Linked DNA regions of Homo sapiens: region 2 is linked to region 1. The links are contacts of gene promoters, found by promoter capture Hi-C in blood cells and fetal thymus (Javierre and others, 2016). All regions are on one chromosome and are shown on one strand. Each heading gives the region's core, a stretch centred on a gene start or on the middle of the fragment in contact. The rest is flanking DNA. Distances are from core to core; before and after follow the strand shown.

The links. Contacts are between HindIII fragments. The CHiCAGO score rates a contact against its expected background, and 5 or more counts as called.
Region 2: a contact is called between the fragment with the promoter of PPP2CA here and the fragment with the promoter of HNRNPA0 in region 1, in 2 of 17 cell types (neutrophils and fetal thymus). The highest score is 8.9, in neutrophils.

What each region holds. Positions count from the first base shown.
Region 1 is chr5:137,752,530-137,758,641 of GRCh38, reverse strand. It overlaps HNRNPA0 (heterogeneous nuclear ribonucleoprotein A0), which reads left to right and starts at 4,279. Exons shown (of 1, transcript NM_006805.4): 1 at 4,279-6,112. The coding sequence starts at 4,576. The coding sequence ends at 5,493. RefSeq lists enhancers at 1-82, 3,547-4,238, 4,500-4,849, 5,360-5,519, 4,929-5,620 and a silencer at 3,560-3,919. The HindIII fragment of the contact is 5,253 bases long and covers 1,960-6,112 here.
Region 2 is chr5:134,221,443-134,227,674 of GRCh38, reverse strand. It overlaps PPP2CA (protein phosphatase 2 catalytic subunit alpha), which reads left to right and starts at 1,602. Exons shown (of 7, transcript NM_002715.4): 1 at 1,602-1,915. The coding sequence starts at 1,814. MIR3661 (microRNA 3661) reads right to left here and starts at 1,918; the gene lies at 1,823-1,918. PPP2CA-DT (PPP2CA divergent transcript) reads right to left here and starts at 1,265. Exons shown (of 1, transcript NR_186539.1): 1 at 1-1,265. RefSeq lists enhancers at 302-821, 663-822, 822-1,343, 1,344-1,863, 2,203-2,312. The HindIII fragment of the contact is 2,287 bases long and covers 393-2,679 here.

The DNA.
Region 1 (6,112 bases), core at 3,030-5,529:
GGTAGATAACTGGCCAGAATTTTTGAGTTATGAGAGCCACTCCAGAGATTTCTTTTACAAAAACAGTCACCACTAGCAGCACATTTCAGTGACATAGAATGGGTGGCAAAACTTGTTTACTTGTGTGACACATTCAACCTGCTCAGTGAATTCAATCTGTCACTTCAGGGGAGAATGACAACTGTGTTCAAATCAGCAGATAAAGGGGCTGCATTGAAAACCAAACTGGAGTTATGGGGGCGATGAGTGAACATTGGGATTTCTGACATGTTTCAAACATTAGCAGAGATTTTGAAAGTGACTGAGCCAACGCCTTCTTTCTCCCAGCTGCTGCATGATCACCTAGCTCAGCTTTCAAAAGAGTTTGAGCTTTACTTGCCAACCACAAAAAAATCCCTGAGCTGGGAAGGAATGGATCCACCACCCATTTGTGAATAAGCCAGAAGAATTGACTTTGTCGATACTAGAAGAGGATCAACTGCTTGAGATTGCAAGTGACGGCAGCCTTGTATGTTTGAGACAACTTCAAATCTCCATACATTCTGGATGGAATATCCTGAGATTGCCACAAAAGCACTGAAAAGCCTGCTTCCATTTCCAGCATCCTATATTTGTGAAGCAGGGTTTTCTGCAGTGACAGCAACCAAAACTAGATTATGGAGTAAACTGGACATAAGCAACACACTTCGGGTGTCACTGTCTCCCATCACCCCCAGATGGGAACCGGCTAGTTGCGGGAAAACAAGCTCAAGCCTTCCACTGATTCTACGTTACGGTGAGTTGTATAATTATTATATTTCATTGAATATTATGATGCAATAATAATAGAAATAAAGTGCACATTAAATGTAATGCACTTGAATCATCCTGAAACTACATCCTGGTCTGTGGAAAAATTGTTTTTCACAAAATAGGTCTCTTGTGCCAGAAAAGTTGGGCACTGCTGGTAAACTATTATTTAAAAACAATGTAGGCAAAAACTATCTACCAAAATTGTAAATTCCTAAAGTAACAGTTTTCATAAGTTATGGTCTTTATTCCTTCAGGAGTTCATCTTTTACTGTTTTAAGATTTGGATGACTCTGAAACAGTGGTGCCATCTCAGCTAACAACAGCAGCATCTGCCTTCTGGGTTCAAGCAATTCTCCTGCTTCAGCCTCCCAAGTAGCTGGGACTACAGGCATGCGCCACCACACACGGGGTTTCAATTTGTTAGCCATGCTGGTCTTGAGCTCCTGACCTCAAGTGATCCGCCTGCCTCAGCCCCCCCACAGTGCAGGGATTACAGGCACGAGCCACTGTGCCCAGCCCATTTTCCCCTTTCTTTATTATCAATAGGCAAATCCTGACATTTGAATTTTTTTTGTAATAACAAGGTTAATAGCTTTCTACTGTCCTCTTTCATTTTTTTAATGTCATTTATCACTATCTAACATGCCATATACCACTCTTATTTGTTTATTGTCTGCTTCTTCCCACTAGAATGTAAGCATCATGAGGGCAGAGGTTTTTGTCTGTTGTTTACAGCCATATTGCCAGCACCAGGCATAGGATTCATATAATTGGATAAACTGAGCACTTACTGTGTACCAGGCATGTATACATGTTTACATGTAGAATCTTATTTAATTTTCACTACAACAGAAAGATGTTTTATTATTCCCATTTTAAGATAATAAAACTGATTACATTTTTTTAAAAGGTTAAGTAACTTAGCCAAAGTCACATAACTGAATGGTTACAGGGTAAGTGATAGATCAGACTAGTTTACCCTCAAACCTTAGCCCATCTATTTACCTTTGTTACAGTATCCAAACTACTTAACCTAAGATTCAGCACATTCCATAGTATCATTTCATAGTACCAAAGACCCTCAACCTATCTTACCTCTCACTATTTTCTATCTAAAACTGCCTGCTTCTCTCAAACTAACTGGCCCACTCCCTGTCTCTTGAAGCTTATGTTCCCTCTGGATTTTGCTCAAATAAACTCCCTACAGAAATCTTTTTTTTTTTCCTTTCCAACTTTTATTTTAGGTTCAAGGGATACGCGTGGAGGTTTGTTATGTGGGTAAATTGTTAGTCTTGGGGGTTTGGTGTATAGATAATTTTGTCACCCAAGTCATCAGCATAATACCTGATAGGTAGCTTTTTAGTCCTCACCCTCCTCCCACCCTCCATCCTTAAAAAAGACCTGATGTCTAATGTTCCCTTCTTTTGTGTCCATGTGTACTCAATGTGTAGCTCCCACTTATAAGTGAGAACTTGTGGTATTTGGTTTTCTGTTCCAGCCTTAATTTGCTTAGGATACTAACTAGTCTTTGGCTCTGAGGTTCAGTGCAACTTCCAATTCTTTCCTAAATCTTTCCTGAATACTTGAGGATACAGTGAGGAATTCCTCTTAACTTCTTCAGCGTTTACCATATGGTTTTGGAGGCTTTTGGTCACGTAATGCCTCATATTAACTATGTCCCACCCCATTTATCTTGCTTGGCACACAAAGGCTCAATAAATGGAAGCCATTGTAATTTTCTTCCATTCCCATCTGAGTGAGGGCACTAAAAGCAGTAACTTAGGGGTATATGATCTCTCTCTCTGTAAAACATTCGTCTAACCCAACATCTTTAAAAAGCTAACATTCTACTTTTGGGAGGCCGAGGCGGGCAGATCACTAGGTCACGAGTTTGAGACCATCCTGACCAACATGGTGAAATCCCGTCTCCACTAAAAATACAAACATTAGCCAGGTGTGGTGGTGCCCGCCTGTAGTCCCAGCTACTTGGGAGGCTGAGGCAGGAGAATCGCTTGAACCCGGGAGGTGGAGGTTGCAGTGAACCAAGATCGTGCCATTGCATTCCAGCTTAGGCAAGACTCCGTCTCAAAAAAAAAAAAAAAAAAGCAAAGTTAACATTCTAGGCCAGGCGCGGTGGCTCACGCCTGTAACCCAGCACTTTGGGAGGCCGAGGCAGATGGATCACCTAAGGTCAGGAGTTTGAGACCAGTCTGACCAACATGGTGAAACCCCATCTCTGCTAAAATACAAAAATTAGCCGGGTGTGGTGGTGGGCGCCTGTAATCTCAGCTACTCAGGAGGCTGAGGCAGGAGAACAGCTTGAACCCAGGAGGCGGAGGTTGCTGAGCCGAGATTGCGCCAGTGCACTACAGCCTGGGCAACAAGAGTGAAACTCCATCTCAACAACAACAAAAAAGCTAACATTCTAGTTCAAAGAAAGCAACACATAGATGATGTAAATTACACATAAAAAACCATTCACTGAGGTTAAATGAAAATGTCTGCTGGAGTGTGCCAAGGGGACCTGAAAGGGCCTCCTCTGAGAGGGCATCGTGGGAGGGCTTCAAGGAGGGCGGGAGGGTGGCAGGGAGGCAGGGATGTCGCGCCTCGTCTGGTTCCTAATGTCTGAAGTTCTTTTGGTTCCCTGTTGTCTTTCACACCGCCGCCTCGGGCTCGCTTTTGCGCAGGGCCACGTGGCAAAGTTTTAGTTTAACCGCACGTCGGGCCCACTGTAAACGGTTAATAACCGCCTTCGTGGACCAGGCCTCTGCCCTCCATCTTTGTGCGGGCGGGAGGTGGGGCGGGGACGCCAGGTGTAGCGGACAAGCGGAGAGGCGGCGGGTAGATCCGGGCCCCCAACCCCAACAGTCAAGTTTTCAAAAAGCCCGCGCGTGGCGCCCCAGACCGCATCCGTTGGGAATGGCCCCCAGCGCGCCCCCTGCTCTCTCCCCGGCAAAGCCCTGGGCGGGAGAAGGCGCGGGGGTGGTAGGCCGGCTCTGCACGCCGGGGGCGCCGGGGCAAGCGCGCACCGGGGAGCGCGCCCGTCCAACAGCTGCCGAAAACGGAAGTGGGTGCGAGGGGATCACGGTGATTGGCTGAACTCAGATGTCTCTCAAGGGGCTGGCGCGAACGCCACTGCGGAGTTGGGCGAGGGGATGAGTAAAGGGGAGGGGGAGAAACACTGGGAACAGCCGCGGTGCTAGGAGGAAATGAATCGCGGTGGTGCGCGGAGGGCAGGGAGGGACCCATGTCAAGGGACAGTGGGGCGCTCGGGAATGAAAGTGGGCTGGCAGAAGCGGAAGCGGGAGCGGCACAGGCCGCGGGCTTGAATAGACCGCGGAGGGCGGGGAGTCCGTGATCTAGAGCGGCGCTGCGGCGCGGTAGGCGGGATTAAGGGGAGCGAGGCGGGGATTGGCTGGTAGCCCTAGGCTGCCGTACGTCGGCGGTGACGCACGCCTCGGGGAGGGTGCGCGCGCGTTCAGCGGCCTCTTTGTGTGGTGCCCAGATAGGGGAGCGGAGGTGGCGGCGGCGGCGGTAGCGGTGGCCTTGGTTGTCTTCCAGTCTCCTCGGCTCGCCCTTTAGCCGGCACCGCTCCCCTTCCCTCCCCCTTCCTCTCTTCCTTCCTTCCCTCCCCTTCCCTTTTTCCCTTCCCCGTCGGTGAGCGGCGGGGGTGGCTCCAGCAACGGCTGGGCCCAAGCTGTGTAGAGGCCTTAACCAACGATAACGGCGGCGACGGCGAAACCTCGGAGCTCGCAGGGCGGGGGCAAGGCCCGGGCCTTGGAGATGGAGAATTCTCAGTTGTGTAAGCTGTTCATCGGCGGCCTCAATGTGCAGACGAGTGAGTCGGGCCTGCGCGGCCACTTTGAGGCCTTTGGGACTCTGACGGACTGCGTGGTGGTGGTGAATCCCCAGACCAAGCGCTCCCGTTGCTTTGGCTTCGTGACCTACTCCAATGTGGAGGAGGCGGACGCCGCCATGGCCGCCTCGCCCCATGCCGTGGACGGCAACACTGTGGAGCTGAAGCGGGCGGTGTCCCGGGAGGATTCGGCGCGGCCCGGTGCCCACGCCAAGGTTAAGAAGCTCTTTGTCGGAGGCCTTAAAGGAGACGTGGCTGAGGGCGACCTGATCGAGCACTTCTCGCAGTTTGGCACCGTGGAAAAGGCCGAGATTATTGCCGACAAGCAGTCCGGCAAGAAGCGTGGATTCGGCTTCGTGTATTTCCAGAATCACGACGCGGCAGACAAGGCCGCGGTGGTCAAGTTCCATCCGATTCAGGGCCATCGCGTGGAGGTGAAGAAAGCAGTCCCCAAGGAGGATATCTACTCCGGTGGGGGTGGAGGCGGCTCCCGATCCTCCCGGGGCGGCCGAGGCGGCCGGGGGCGCGGCGGTGGTCGAGACCAGAACGGCCTTTCCAAGGGCGGCGGCGGCGGTTACAACAGCTACGGTGGTTACGGCGGCGGCGGAGGCGGCGGCTACAATGCCTACGGAGGCGGCGGCGGCGGTTCGTCCTACGGTGGGAGCGACTACGGTAACGGCTTCGGCGGCTTCGGCAGCTACAGCCAGCATCAGTCCTCCTATGGGCCCATGAAGAGCGGCGGCGGCGGCGGCGGTGGAGGCAGTAGCTGGGGCGGTCGCAGTAATAGTGGACCTTACAGAGGCGGCTATGGCGGTGGGGGTGGCTATGGAGGCAGCTCCTTCTAAAAGAAAATTTAAAATGCCTGGGAGTGGCTATAGGGGTAGCTCTTTCCAACAGCCCAAGTGGGGTCAACTCCTAAGCCCCACCCCCTCACACACACCGCCTTCCCTGTTTTGCCCTTGGGGGAGCCACTTCTAAGGCTGCTTACCCTTGGGGGTGTTCCTCTATTTGCCTGCCACCTCTCTTGTCTCTCCCTCTGAAGATGGACTCGGCCCCACATACACATTTTTGTGTTACAGTCATTGATGGACTCTATTTTTTTATTATTACTTGGACCTTGGTCGTTTTTATACTAGCAAAATGTCTTGTTTTAATTTGTGTTTTTTGGGGGGAGGGAGGGAGTGAACTTGCTGATTCTGTAGCAAAACCTGGGTGGGGGTTGGGGTGGGGGGTAGTTTACTTTGTTGTAAGGACTTGATAACCTGGCTACAGCGTTTTCTATGAAATCTACTTGGATCCCATGCCTGAAATTTGGAAGCATATGTACAAAAATCATTTTTACGTTTTATTTTTAATAAATCATTGTGTTTGACCGTACATGTCTAACATTTTTTTTCTAGGATCCATTCCGTACCGTTTTTTAAGGGATATTTGTTTAAGACTTTACGTGTTAATTCTTTATTC
Region 2 (6,232 bases), core at 353-2,852, 3.5 Mb after region 1:
CCAGTCTGGTAAATTAAGTATGTGATAAGACTTCTAGAAGAGTAGATTTAAGGTACTTTCTTTTGTGCACACTAATGGGAGGTGTGAAGGGAAAGCAGAATTGCAATTTCCAGCCTAGGGAGGCCAAGCCAGTCGGCCTTGCCAAACACGTTGTCTTGGATAAAGGAGGATTTTCAGTCCTGCTATTGGCTGATGGGGCCTCCAGTGCCTTCTTCAGCCTGTTGGTGGGGATGATGCCCTCAGAGCCGCAGAGTGAGCAGTCTCCTCCCAAGCATCGCTGAGCACTTGGGTGTGGAAGGGTTGCCTGATACTGAGGGTGGGGTTCCTGGAAGACAGGCGATCAGGTTCAGCTCTTGCCTTGCCCTTTATGGTTAAATGTTCTTTGGAAAGCTTCTATATCTTTCAAATCCTGGGGGCATTATGATCTCTCTTCTGCCTATCCCAAACCATCTTCAGCCAGTACTGTTGGGAGAATACAAGCTCCAGGGCATGGTCCCTGGTCCGTCTGGATGACCCCTCCGGATCTGGCATATAGCTGGCGCTCTATGGAACCAGATATTTATGTAAAAGCAGGGACAATGGAATGTGAAAACGTTTCGCAAACTCCAAAGCGATTCATAACCAGACAGAGGTCCAATCCTAGGGTATACGAGCTCTCTCTTTTAAGCACGTATCACAGCTGCTTCTCACGCCACCGAGACGCGGTCAGGACAGGTGCATCCATCTTCTCTGGGCTTCCCCTCTTGAAAGTAGGCCAGGGCGCGCAGGGGTTGAGGGTCTCTCATTCCCAGAGAGAATTAAACTTGGAGGAAAGCAACCACCGGCGAGGAGCGGGGCGCGTGGAAGCGAGCCGCGGTCCGAGGCCCAAAGAAAAGCCCAAGCCTCGCCCCCGCCATCGCGCCCGACGAGACACCTAGGTCCGGGGACGGGTGTGTGCCGCGGAAGTCAGGTGCACTGCGCAGCACTCCCCCGGTAGGTACACGCTCCTCCACCTACGAGTGACCTAATTACAAGGTGCCAGCCGCGCCCAGAGGTGGGGGTGGTTAATCCAAGCGGCCACTCGCTGCCCGTTCCTGCCCCCAAAGATGACGGAAACCCACACGATTACAGAGCCGCAGCACCCCAGATGAGCCACGGGGTCGCAATTCTCGTTTCCGTGATCGGACTGCCAGGCCCCAGGTGAGGAGCTGAGTTCATCACCAGAGCGGCCTTCCCAGGGGAACCAGTTACAGGCTGCCAGTGGCCCCGGCTTCCATCCGGTCTGCGCCTGCGCGCGGCCCAAGCCCTCGCCTCTCCTGGAATAGTGCTCAGGGATTAGTCCGGTTCGCCGCTGTGCGCACTGCGCATGCTCCAGCTCCATCCTTCCCTTCCCCCACCACCCCGCCCTCCGGGAGCCACGCCCAAAAAGTCAAGGCGCTTCAGTTACCAGCCGGCTACGTCGCGCCTGCGCTTTGACCCCCAGTTTGCGCCCCAACTCCGGTCGTGCGGCCGCCCGGGGAGGGCTCTGCAGTTGCGCAGCTTGCTCCCCGGCCCTTTTCCCCTCCGCTCCCCGCCGCCTCCTGACGCCGGGCGTGACGTCACCACGCCCGGCGGCCGCCATTACAGAGAGCCGAGCTCTGGAGCCTCAGCGAGCGGAGGAGGAGGCGCAGCGGCCGACGGCCGAGTACTGCGGTGAGAGCCAGCGGGCCAGCGCCAGCCTCAACAGCCGCCAGAAGTACACGAGGAACCGGCGGCGGCGTGTGCGTGTAGGCCCGTGTGCGGGCGGCGGCGCGGGAGCAGCGCGGAGCGGCAGCCGGCTGGGGCGGGTGGCATCATGGACGAGAAGGTGTTCACCAAGGAGCTGGACCAGTGGATCGAGCAGCTGAACGAGTGCAAGCAGCTGTCCGAGTCCCAGGTCAAGAGCCTCTGCGAGAAGGTGAGCTGTAGTACGGCTGCGGACAGCCGCCGCGGGGCCGAGCCCGCCGAGGAAAAGGCGGCCGTGAGGAGGGTGCAACATGGCGGAGGCCGCCGGTCCGGGCCCCCCGAGTCTCCGAGACCGGCGCCCATCCTGGCCGGCGGCGGCTTCCTAACGACCCGGCGCCCCCTGCCTCCCGCGCAGGGATTGGTTGCCGCCGCCGCCTAAAATGGCGCCGTTCACTCGACTCCTGGGCTTTTGAGTCAGCCGGCCTTGGCGCCAGACGAGGTGGCAGGGGGAGCGGAGACCCTGTGGGTCATCGTCAGGGACGGTTTTGAGGGTGAGCTGGCTTGGATTCTGCGGCTTGGGAATGGAGCCTGGGCCTCTCCGGTGGGCTGAGTAAGAGTCTTGCCGCTGGTACCCAGGCCTAGTTAGGTCCAGAGCTGCCCAGAGGATCCCCCAAAGGCAGTCTTGTTAGGCCGTATCCCAGAACATACCTAAAGGTCACACAGCTTTAGTACCCCTTGGTGGTTTGTATTAAACTCACCAAGCGATCTTCTCCAGAAATCAAGGTAAGGGGTGTCTTTAAGAATTTTTAAATTATTCTCTTAACCTAATTTTTACGAAGGTCATGGTGGTAGCTATAAGGGAGGAGTGTAACTTATTTTTCATAGTTGGAAGAAATCGGGAATTTGGTGAGTCATACTACATAAGGAGCTTTTGGATTGGAAATCAAGTGTCGGTTGAATATGATTTATATGCTGACTCAAAGCCTTCTCTAAGCTTAACACACTTGGCATTTTGCCGTTTATTTTTAAAATGAACAACATAAAATGGAAGAGCGGTAAATTTTGTATCTTTGTTGCAAAAATTACTTGATAGTATTTTGTGGCTGCAAGTAGTAGTAGTGATAATAACTGTCGACTGAGATTGTATTCCAGACATTGTGCTTAGTGTTTAAATAATGTCTCACATACACTGAAAATAGAATGTTGTAGTCCACTTAGTAACACTAAACTTTATATTAGCTAATTCCCTTTTGTTTTCCCCTGGGGGTTGGGGAAACAGGTAGTTAATTTAGCTATTAGCTTTGTGTTGTATTTTTAAATTCTTGTAACTCAGTTTTCTAAAGTACACAAAATGCTGATCTCTGCTGTGAACATTTTAACTTCCCTTTTCAAAATTAACTTTGCAGCACGTCACTTTAGTACAGAATAGTGGAGTATCATATTAGCATTTTGTATCCGTGAAAAGAATTAATGGAGAACTATTATCCTGATTTGTTTCTGGTTTGATGTGAAAATTAGGTTCATGAGTTTGACGTATATGTTTCCAAGACAGGCTTTTTTAGAAACCATGTTGTGAACAATTGGAATTTAAGTAAGTCAGATTTAGATTTGTTTCTCCCAAGCCTGAACAAAACTACTACTAGTGGATGAGGTGGCACATCATCTGTTGGAGATGCCTTTTAATGGTAGCGATGTATTGAATCTCCTGTTTCTTTACCCTCTCACGTCAAATGAGGTTGGTATTTATTTTAAAGGTTTAAAATTGGCCTTTAAAAATGAATGTATATTGCCAGGTCTTAATTTCTAGGTACTGTACATGATGATCTTACCGATTTTTGGAATTCAGTGCATTATATGAAAGACTTTTAAGTCAGTAGTTGGCCAGTTGACTAGTCTTTTGAAGAAAACGTGGAAAGGAGGGAGGTAATGACGTAACTGGAAGACTGGACTGCGAGTTAGATTTGGACATGAGTCCTTCTGCTCTTACTTGAGTAATTGTGACAGACTTTGGGACAGCCACTTCACTTGTCCTTGTTTTCCTGTCTATAAACTAAAATGTGTTCTGAGATTATACAGTCAATTCCGTTTTAAATTAGTAGTGTGTTTAATATTGAACATCTATTGAATATCTAAGATTGCATACTCTTTTGAGGGAAATGAAAAGCAATGAAGAATAAGTATGCTTATTGTCGAGGAGCTATGAATCTAGTTTGAAAGAAAAGCATGGTATGAAAAGGTGTGGGAGATGGAGCATGGAAGTAGAGGGTTTGTGTTGGAAACTGTTGTAGAAGATAAGATAATACTGGATGCTAGAGTGGGGTGGGTGAAGCTGATGCATCTAATATTGCTTTCCACATCTTTGTAAAACTAAGATGTAGTGAGGTAAATCTCCATTGCTTGCGCTGCTTACGCAAATTTTAGTTCTGAGTGCCAAAAAAGATGGAAATAATATTTGAGAGTAGGTGTTATATAAAAGTTTCTGTGGAATGGATCCGTTTTGGTGGATATCATTATACAACCTTCATACTGTTTATAACTGGTAAGTAAGTATTTCAACTTTCAGGATGATATTAAACTTCCAAACTAAATTAATTTGAAGACAGTTTTTTGGGTATGTAGAATCCATGAACTGATGTTTTTTGTACAAGTCTTTCTAGTAAAACAAAAGCTGTCTTTCACTGTTAATATTTGTGTGCCAATGGCATCTCTGGGTGAAAGCTACATATGTGCTTTTTGGTGTGATTGCCTTCTAAAGAGTAATTTTGAAAATTTGAGGGCTAATTTTTTTCATTAGTGTATAATAATAGTATTTTTTGAGAAAAAAGATACTTGTTAATAGTTGATAATTTCTTCAATCATAAGAAGGAATGATAATGTAAAAGCCTTCCTTCTACCCACCTAAATGCCTGATTTGAAGGGGAAATATTTAAATAGTAAAAATAGATGTATACCATAAGAGGTCATTGTTACTAAAAAATCCTGAGGCCATTATTTTGTTAACCCATCAACAATTAACAGTGTTACATGTTCAGAACTGAGAGAATCTAAGTATGCATTTATAAAAGACAAGAGTGAACATGGTTTTTATGTTACTGACTAGCTAAAAAGAATTTTAAGATGTGATTAAGACTTATACAAAAGCCAAGGTTGTTAGTGTATAGTATACTTTGTCATCTTGAGAATCATAATTTGTTGATAGTTTAATAATTTGGTGTGCAGCTTTGCCTCAGGCTCAGTTCTATAATCAGCATTACATCAGTATAACTGGCCGGGTATGTTTCAATCTACAGATTGAAAGGAGTAAATAGTATCAACTTGCTTTTGCATTGACTACAGTAAACAATCTTTTATTATGTGACTTCAGCTTTGTTTTAGCTTGGGTATGATTTCTTGGCTTTGTGCTTACCAAACATGTGGAGAACGTTGTTTGATAGCCAGATTTTTTTTTTTCAAAGAAGTTCTTTACCTAGGTATGCTGTTTTCCATTGCTTTGCAAGCACTATAAATAAAGTGCAGTCATTAGTCATTAAAATGTTAGTTTTAACATTTGTTACGTGAGTATGGAAAAAACAAACTGCTTCCTTCTAATTAGATGAGCTGAAAAATATTTGACCAAGATGACATTCTTATATGAATTGGGTAATATGTTGCTGTGAGTATGTGTGTACGTTTCATTTTAAAGGGTGTTTGGCTCATTTCTCTAGAAGTGATTTGAATATTGAGGACAAGCAGGTGGGGGAAGCATGTTACAGAACATTATTTTTATCATACTTTTATAAGATATTGTTCTCAGTTACAGATGCAACTCAAAGACTCAGAAAGGTAAAGTGACTTGACTAAAGGGGCTAAAAGTGAGATTGCCAAGGCTTGTGGATTCTAAGCCTAATGTTCTGGTATTGCTTCACAGATCCCCTTCTGTTTTCAGAGGTAGTGTTAGTAGTGAAAGATGTAGGTAAATTGGGGCCAAGCTAAATTGGGAAGTCAACACTTTCATAAAATAAAACTTTTTTTTTTTTTTTTTTTTGAGATAAGGTCTTACTCTTTTGCCCAGTCTGGAGTGCAGTGGCGCAATCTCGGCTCACTGCAACCTCCACCTCCCAGGTTCAAGCAGTTCTCCTGCATCAGTCTCCCTAGTAGCTGGGATTACAGGTACCCACCACCATGCCCAGCTGTTTTGTATTTTTAGTAGAGATGGGATTTCACCATGTTGGCCAGGCTAGTCTCGAACTCCTGACCTTCAGTGATCCACCCACCTCAGCCTCCCAAAGTGCTGGGATTACAGGCTTGAGCCAGCGCGCCTGGCCAAGACATTATTTTTATTTTCATTGCTTGAAAGCTTCCTATTCATGTTACATACTGTTGTTCCTCTTTGTCTTGGAAAGAGTAATTATTATTCAGTTTTGGATGTAGCTGACAACATTTGCCCCTCAAATGAGATTGGTGAGATGAAAACCCTAGATAATTTCCCTTGTATTCTTAGTATAAATCATGATCCAGAGACTGAGCTCTAAAGTATTCTAATAAAGTATAACTGACTTTTTATATTGTT